Linked DNA regions of Homo sapiens: region 1 is linked to region 2. The links are contacts of gene promoters, found by promoter capture Hi-C in human tissues and cell types (Jung and others, 2019). All regions are on one chromosome and are shown on one strand. Each heading gives the region's core, a stretch centred on a gene start or on the middle of the fragment in contact. The rest is flanking DNA. Distances are from core to core; before and after follow the strand shown. Region 1 holds the start of HIPK2 (homeodomain interacting protein kinase 2). Region 2 holds the start of UBN2 (ubinuclein 2).

Region 1 (4,372 bases), core at 1-2,500, 550 kb after region 2:
ACACATCGAAGTGTAAAAACTTAGTTGATTCTGGGTTGCTTTCTGGCTGGAAGCTGACAGAACGGACTGAAGAGAAACGAAAGACAGTGTGCGAGGCAGACCTACTGCTTTTCTGCCTTGCGTTCTTTTCTTTCTTGCTAAAGGCAGTCAAATGGGGAAAAATACCCCGATGCCAGGTGAAGGTGCACAACACAGATCGACCCAGACCGAGCCAGAAAAACGTCTCCGCCGCTCCCCCGGCTGGAAAACCCAAAGTCCACGTCCCCTTCCACACGCTAATGAGGGGAGATTTTCGCCTATTTCATTGTTCTGCCTGGCTCTGACATGGACTTTTCATCTCTCTCCTCTCTCCCCACCTAGCCCCGTGCATTCCGATTCCACAGCCCCCCCAAAATCGGAGGCTCGCGGAGAATAAAGGAGCGTGGGGTGGGCGCGGAAAGAAATGGGAAGGGGCGCGGGGCGGAGAGCGAAGTGGAAAGGAGGTGCTCCGAAAGGTAATGTGGGGGGGCGGTGGAAGCTAAGCCGCATCACCTTCATTTATCGCAAATAAATAAAAAGCACAGTCACCGGTCCGCCTTCCCCGGCGTCCCTGCCCTCCCCGGGCAGCCGCCCACCCTCGCACACGCCCCCTCCCCTCCTGCGCCCCCGGCCCCTCTCCCCGCCCTGGAAGCAAGACCCTGCCGGCGCCGGGTCCCGGTCATCTTCCGGGCGAGGGAGGGGGTCGCGGCCCCCTCGGGCCCCGGGTGGGGGCTGGGGCAGGCGCCGGGGGCTGCGGGCGCGGGGCCGCGGGCAGAACAAAGCTGCGGGGGCCGCGGAGGGCGGCGGGCGCGGGGTCGGCGGGGCCGGGCGCCCCTTACCTTCGTACACGGGGGCCATCGGGGCCGGGGTGTCCGCGGTTCATGGCAACGGGGACGGGAAAGCGGCGCGCGAGCTCGGCCCCCCCAGCCTCAGTCGGAATCTGCCATCTTGAGCCTGTGTCTCCGCTCTCGGCGCAGCCGAGGCCGCCCGCGCCCGCATCACCGCCTCCCGTGGCCGGCGCCGGGGGAGGGGGCCGGGCGCGCCGCCGCCGCCGCCGCCGCCGCTGCCGCCCGGGCCCGGCGCGGGGGGCTCGGGGCTCGGGGCTCGGGGCGGCCGGGCGGGCGGAGCGGCCGAGGCCGAGGCGCCGAGCGGCCGCGGCCCCCGAGCGGATCCGCGGAGGGGCGGGAGCCGGGGGCAGCGCGCGGCCAGGGCCGGCGGGGCTCAGCTCAGCATGGCTGGGCGCGGGGGCTCCGCAAAAGTTGCTGGCGGAGGGGGGCGGCGGGCGGGGGCGGGGGCGGGGCGCGGGGCCGGGAGAGCCACAGGGAGTCCGCGCGCAATCGAGCGCCGATGGCACGGATGCGAGGCGGGGAAGGCCGAACCGAAGGGCAGAGCCGCGCCGGCGGCCCGAGGGGACCGCGCTGGGAGGGGCTGCCGCGCAGCGCGGGGGGACTGGGCGCAGGGCGGGCCCCGGGTAGTGGGTGAGAGGGCCGGCCTGGACCCGGCGGGCGCACGGCTCCGAGCCCAGCGCAGCCGAGCCGGTCTGCAGAGGGGCCCCCAGAACTTTGTGTGTGTGTGTGCACGCGCGCGCGTGTGTGCCCAGGTGCGAGGGTTCGCGCGTGTGCTGGCGGGGAGGGAACCGACCCGAAAGAGAGCCCCACGCTGGCAAAGTGGCTCGCCCATCTCACAGCCGGTTGGCGCTCGCGGAGGTAGGAGTGGAATGAATGAATGAAGGAGTGGGCGCGCGCCGTGCTCCGGAGGAGGGCGGGTGAGTGGAGGAGCTTCGGAAAGCCACACGAGGTCAGAGGCACCGAAGCCCTGCCGTGCACGCCGCGGAAATGCAGCCCCCGGGGTGGTCGCTGGGTTCCTGCCGGAGTCTGGCTTCCACGCCACCCTGATCTTCTCCTCCTCGCGTCTACACTGTCCCGAGGGCCGCCACTCCATCACTTGAATGGGAGCTCACAACTCTCTGGGTCCTCGCTTTTCTCAGCGCTCTCTCCTATCAGGGCTTCCGCTAAACACTCTCCAGACTCTCCCCAGCCGGGAGCCTCTCCAGGTTTGCTTCTCCAGCTGCCTCCCGGATGCTTGGATAGGATGCCCTGCCATCCCCTCCAACTTAGGAAGACTTGTTGAGTCTCCTCTTAGGCACTGTTTTTAAAACTGTGGGTCGTGACACAGTAATAGATCATAAAATAAATGCAGCGGAAGGCAACCAGCTTTCAAAAAGAACGAAATGGAATCCAATAGAAAATATTAGAGTCCATTGCCCTTAGTAAGGGCAACTATTGTTTCATAAACCTTTTGTTTCGATTATAGGTACTGGACAAGTGTACTGGACCATGATGTCAATTTTATTTCCGTCTGTGAATCGTGGGTTTAAAAAAGTTGAAAAGCTATCTGTGTAAAATAATGATCTCTAACACTGTATAACTTTCTTAAAAACAACCTCGTGATTTTCTCACTACTTCTTATCCTTTCCGGTCTCCATCCTCCGTTCCCATCCTTCAGTCCTTCCCAAAAAAGGCAAGCTCTTTCACACTTTTTTAGTGGTACATCACGACACCTTCCTCTGTGTGATCTTGTACTCTGCGGTCTTCCTTGCCCCCATAATCAATGCTACACTTCCTATCCCTTCTCTTAACCTAATGCCATTCACGTTTGCAGAATCCTAGACTACTGTTGCTAAAAGGACCTCAGAGGTCATCTGGGCCAGCCCTGCCCTTTTAGAGTTGAAGAAATGGAGTCCAGAGAAGTAAAATCTGTTGCCCAATGTCACACAGTATTGAAGCTTAGGAATAGGTCTCGTGGCTCCCACTCTAGTGTTTTTTGCTCCACACCGGTCATTTATCTCCTTCCCTTCTATCCTCCCTGCAATCTTTAACTTTAGTCTTGGCCCAGGTCATCCTAAATATTGCCATCTTCATAATACGTGGTTCTGGCCATGCCACGCTCCTGGCTAACATCCTCTAAGGACTCAACCTCTGCAGGTGGGGCTGAGTGCCTTGGCTTTTCATCAAGGCAGGCGAGTCCTGACTTAGCTTTCTAAGGACATGAGTTCAGCAAGTCACTGCTTCTCTAGCCAAACTGGTTTACTTGTAGCCCAGTGCCAGCTTCACCCATCTCTGTCACTGTGCCTTTGCCCAAGCGGTCACTTTCCCACCCACTTTCCCAGAGGGGTACCTTCTCCATCTTCTCTCTTTAAGCAGATTCTACCTGTGCCTGGCTCACCTCCTCCACAAAACAGCCCGAGATAGCGTGGGAGTAAGTCAGACCTAGGTTCAAATCCTAGCTCTTCCACTTAACTATGTGATCTTGGTCAAAATGCTTAACCTCTCTGAGCCTCAGTGTCTGTATTTTGATTATGAGAAGGAGAACAATAGTAATGTTCTCCTTTTGCATCTGTAAATCTCTATCATAGCCTTCACCACACAGGTATGTAACTCCCTGTTAATACATACCCTACATGCATGTCTCTCTGCCCCTTTCTAGTGCTGGCCATTAGAACTTGCTGCCATAATGGCAGTGTAGCTACTTATGTCTGTGGAGCACATGAAATGTGGCTAGTATGACTGAGGAACTGAATTTTTAATTTTAATAACCATGGGTGGTTAGTGGCTACCATTTTGGACAAGGTGTCTCTAGACTGTAAGCTCAGTAAGGACAGAAACCATGTTTTTCTTGTTTTGGATTGTATGTCCAATAACTGCATTGCCTAACGCATGGTGAGTACTGCACACATATTTGTTGAATGGATGATAGCTGCAATTTGTTGCATGCTCCCTTGTGTCCAGCACAACACTACAAACTCGATAAAAGGCATTTCATATAGTCCTCATCACAGCCTCTGAGGCTGGGTTAGATTAGAGAGAGAGTTTTATATAGAGGGCAGACACATAGTAGGGGTTCAATAAAAGTTATTATTATTCTAACTCCTCCCTCTGACCAGCCCCACTGACTTTTGTCTCATCTTTCCTTAGGCTCACAGAACATTTCCTGCCTGTTGCTCACACTCTGTTGTCCACAGCATACCCGCACCCTAGATGGCTGACTCTTGTCTTCTGTGTAGGTACCCTGTGTTCATAACTGGATTGGCAGCGTCTTGGAGCAAGGCCCTGCTTTATAGGACTGCCCCTGAATTCAGCACTGACCAGTGTTCAGTAACTGCCTCTAAGTCCATCCCAGCTGCTGTCTAGCAGTGAGTGATTCTAGGCAGTCTTAAAATGAATATCACTTGTGTCAACCGAAAACATTTTACAGGTAGTCTCCTCCCCATAAGAAGGGAACAATCTTGGGCAAGGAAATAGAGTCCCATGGAAGGGGAACAAGATGGAGCCATACAGACAGAGGTCCACCTTCT
Region 2 (4,629 bases), core at 1,711-4,210:
GAGGGAGATTGTGGACATTCTGCTTGTAGTCTCAGCTACTTGGGAGGCTGAGGCAGGAGAACGGTGTGAACCCGGAAGGCGGAGCTTGCAGTGAGCCGAGATCGCGCCACTGCACTCCAGCCTGGGCGACAGAGCAAGACTCCATCTCAAAAACAAAAAGAGATTTCAAGAATTCTGAATACTGGTTTACTGGAAACTCTGGTTATTTGTGTACAGCTTTGTGAGCAAGGACTTAACCCAGAATTAATAAATAACCAAGGAAATATCACTGGTTATTAAGGAGCTTCGAAAGACTACCAAAGCACAAAAGGCTGCTGAAAACATGACAATCTAACTTTCTGGAGAAATCCTGATATGTTGAGCTCTTCAAGAGGATTTGAAGACTGCGTCGTAATCAAGAACGTACGGTGAAATTACTGCATGCAGCAGTGTAGAAAAATAGTCCTTTTTAAAAGAATTACAGAACCATAGCTTTATAAATCAGTGGGAAAGTGGCTTACAGAGGGAACTATCAGGTGTGTTTACACTGCATCTTATTCACTTTTTAAAACGGCACTAATGTATTGGCATTGCTATGTTTATATTTAGGCATTCCTTATTTATAGCTCTAATAGCTTTAATTTTCTGAGCAGTCTGTCAGATGTTTATATCTGCTGTGCCTGGGTGAAGTGTGGTGGAACCCATTAGTAATAAGGTGTGGTGGTTATAGGACTTGTTGACGTTCCCTTTATAAACTAATTTTGAATTGTTTATGCACAATAACTATGGATTTATGTTGTACTCTCACAGGATTTCAGCCACCATTTGTGAATTTTGATTTAGGTTCATTATATCAGAATCTTGTTTTTTAAATTAAGAACATGGAAAACATTTCTTGTAATCTACCCTTTAACAAAGAATATATAGTTTTCAAACAGTTTGTTGGGCAGTTAATAGGGTGAACCAGATCATTTTTATTGATTTAAATAATTAACTTGATTAAACTTGGTATTTTATGAAGAGAATAAATTATTACAGCTTAGTACTTCATTTACACAGAGAAATGATTGTCGGGTATGCAATTTATCATGATGTCAGACTAAGATTAAAGAAGAATTTATTACTATGCAGAACATGCATACGCATTATTACTATTCATGACTGCCTATATATCTGAACTAGGGTTTTCAATTTTGATCAGTTTAGAAGAAGAAAAAGATCAGGCACCACAGTGGATCAGATGTTCATGTACCACTGTCCTAATGAATTCTGGAGTGCAATAAACCTATGATCAGGCAAGAACTTCCATGGCATTAAATAAAATCTTTCCTAATTTGCTTCTATATGATGTTAACATTTTTTTCTACACTGTATTATAAAATATTTTATATTAAATTAACTCTGTTGCGTCTGTTGCTTTTACTTTATCCTAAGCAGTAGGTAAGTATTGTGAAACTTATATTTCACATATGCACATATGTGTTATGTATATATGGGTGTATATTCTAGGTTACAGTGTAAAATGTCTTACTGTGGGTTATGGATCAAAAAGTTGGAAAACTCAGTGGGTGAGAAGTTAGAAGATAATGTTGGATAAGTAACACACCTGTAGAAGGATTTGGCCCACAGACCACCAGTTTGCAGTCTCTGAGCTAAATTGTGGAGGATATTGAATATGAGTATACATACATAGAACTCAGTTTGTAGGTAAGTTGCAGCCAGAACAGAGAACGATATAATAAAAACTCTTTTAGAGACATTAATATGACCCCGTCTCAAGACTGGTGGGAACAGAGACTGAAGGCAGAAAGGTCATTTAAGTATCACTAAGGCAATCTAAAAATGAGACCCGAATTCAGAATCAGAAAAGGAGCAATAGGGAAGGAGATAATGTAGGTAAAACATGGCGCCGAGTAGAAAAGATAGGGTTTTAGAGCTGGGAGAGACCTTTGGAATCATAGATTTCATCACCATCTTCGTCCAAGTAGGGAAAGTAATAACAGGAGAGGAAAAAACGGAACCCTCTCAGAATTTGTCAATGACGTCACACTGACTTAATAAAAGAGCTTTCAATAGTTAATGCAATTAACAGAAGGCTTGGATTCCCTTCAGGATGTGAAGGGCGAGCCCTCAAATTTACTTTTTATTCAATGGATTAAAATGGCCAGTAATTCTTATCCTTTTAAACCCGACTTCCAATTAATTAATTACAAGTGAGCCTATGGGGCGTGCCCAATCAATTCCTTCCCCATCCTGAAATGGGTCCTTTAGCATTCTCATAAACAGTACGTTTCCTGAAATACCACTAAACCCTCTTAAGAAGTTTTCTATGATTTCAGCAGTTTAGGCCTTCTGAATGAGCCCAGAACTCCTCATCTGCTTGTTAATTTTCCAACTGCAAAGCGTTATTGAACATTTAATGACCCTGCCCCACGCAACGCCCACTGCGGCCGGGCGAGGGAAACCGGAGTAGGTCGAGGAAGGGGAGGCCTGCGCTTTCGGGAGGGAAGCCGCTGGGGCTAGTCTGGCTGAAGCTGGGCACTTCCTTTTTTCCCTCGATACTTAAGGCTACGGGGACACAGGGCGGGCAGGCACAACGGCTGGCGCGTCTCTCTACCCTTGCCCAGAGTCCGCCTTGAATAATCAGCTAACAACCCCAATTCCCTTGAACCCAGCACGGGAGACCCGGCGCCAATGGCTAGGTCGGTCTCAGTCCCATCCCGATGCTAGCCCCGGGAAGCTCCTGGAGCGCCTCTGGTTTCCGGGTGCGAATAGTAAACTGCTCGGGAAACCCCAGAACCCTCCCTTTGAGGAAGGGTGCAGACGGCGTCTCCGTTTCCACGGAAACAGGCCGAGCCATGTCGTCACTTCCGCCGACCTGTCTGGACTCCAGACTGTTGGGAGGAAAAGAGGAAAACTGAGCAACAGCCACGACAGTGGACGCGAGCGTCTCCTCTGTGCGCATGCGCCCGCTCAGCGGCCTGCTTCTATTTATGTGGGGGATCCAACATGGCGGCCGCGGCGACCCTGGCGATGGCGGTGAAGCCCATCAGAACGTAGTAGCGGGGAAGGGGACACGGTCCGCACTCACCGTGGCGCCGGCGGAGACGGCTGAGGGTGGTGGAGGGAAGAAAAGCGACAGAGAGCAAGAGGAAGGGCGGGCAGGCACGCAGCGCGCCGTAGAAGCGAGCGCCGGCTCGAGCAAAAGCGGAGGGCCAGAACAGTGGGGATGGCGGAGCCGCGCAGAGTAGCGTTCATTAGCTTGTCACCGGTGCGGCGGCGCGAGGCCGAGTACCCGGGGCCCGAGCGTGAGCCCGAGTACCCCCGCGAGCCCCCCCGGCTGGAGCCGCAGCCGTACCGCGAGCCGGCCCGGGCGGAGCCGCCGGCCCCGCGGGAGCCTGCCCCCCGCTCGGACGCGCAGCCCCCGTCGCGGGAGAAGCCGCTCCCCCAGCGCGAGGTCAGCCGCGCCGAGCCGCCCATGTCGCTGCAGCGGGAGCCCCCGCGGCCCGAGCCGCCGCCGCCGTTCCCGCCGCTGCCCTTGCAGCCGCCCCCGCCGCGGGAGTCGGCTTCCCGGGCTGAGCAGCCGCCGCGGCCGCCGAGGGAGACGGTGCGCCTGGAGCTGGTGCTTAAGGACCCCACCGACGAGAGCTGCGTGGAGTTCAGTTACCCGGAGCTGCTGCTGTGCGGAGAACAACGGGTACAGAAGATTCTTCCCTCCTGCCCCAGACCCCGGGAGCCTCAGGACCCGCCGCCTTCCCCAGCTGGTTTGCACCTTGGGACGCCCACCGAGCGCGTCCGGGTCGCCCCGAGGGTGGGGTGCGGGGGGCCGGGGCCGAGCGGGTGGACGGGGCGGTGAGCGCTGCTTTCTCCACTCCCCAGGGTGGCCGAGGCTCTCACCCGGCTGCGCCGAATCCCCAAACCCCCGGCACTCGCTCCCAACGCCGCGCCGAGCTCGTTTTCTTGTGCACCTTTCGGAACCTCAGATTTTCCTTCTTTCCTTTCTGCTCCCCACACAAAATCCTGGGGCCCTGCAGGCCGTGTGGCTGGGTTCTCCCTGTGGCGCTACAGCTGTCGTTCCAGTAGAAAGGAAGAGAAAACCTTGGGGGACACGCCCCCCAGTCTGAAGCAGAGATTGTGTAACCCCTCTCGTATCATCCTCATCCTCATCACTGTTTGTTTTGCTGGGCGCCGTGGCTGCTGAGGTGTGCTTGCGTGCCTGTGATATTTTTCTTAATCGAAGGGAATTTAAGAATAATTAAAGGTTTTCAGAGACTAAGGATCCCACTTTAGGAATGGAGAAGTGGGTTAGTTAATCTGGTTACTAATTTTTCTCTCGTGTTGGTATTGGAAAACCTTTTTAGCTTTCCTTTTTTGTGGAGTTCGTTCATATTGTAATTGAATGGGAAGGTGTCTCCTGTTTTATTTGACACCTACCCGTCATATTATTTAAGTGTACTATCATTAGTTTATAGAAGGATATTGTATTCAGCCTTTGTAATTTTCGGAGGATGATGAAAAAAATGTCAGCTTTGAATTTTTTAAAATAATTGAAAATATATAGGTATGCTTTTGATGTAAGAGGTGAACAATGGAGAAAGGATAGGGGTTATGTTCGTAATTGTAATTTTTATTGTTGTGGGTTGGTGGATC

What was found. Contacts are between HindIII fragments. The study calls those that stand out against the background at their distance.
Region 1: a contact is called between the fragment with the promoter of HIPK2 here and the fragment with the promoter of UBN2 in region 2, in 2 of the 25 tissues and cell types used here (heart right ventricle and thymus).

Annotation. Positions count from the first base shown.
Region 1 is chr7:139,776,748-139,781,119 of GRCh38, forward strand. HIPK2 (homeodomain interacting protein kinase 2) reads right to left here and starts at 1,251. Exons shown (of 15, transcript NM_022740.5): 1 at 858-1,251. The coding sequence starts at 876. It also overlaps a transcript of TBXAS1 not described here. RefSeq lists silencers at 847-936, 1,367-1,596. The HindIII fragment of the contact is 11,506 bases long and covers 1-4,372 here.
Region 2 is chr7:139,228,277-139,232,905 of GRCh38, forward strand. It overlaps UBN2 (ubinuclein 2), which reads left to right and starts at 2,961. Exons shown (of 18, transcript NM_173569.4): 1 at 2,961-3,676. The coding sequence starts at 3,209. It also overlaps the pseudogene MZT1P2. RefSeq lists enhancers at 2,742-2,901, 2,982-3,121 and silencers at 3,292-3,541, 3,752-3,971, 3,918-4,177. The HindIII fragment of the contact is 19,376 bases long and covers 1-4,629 here.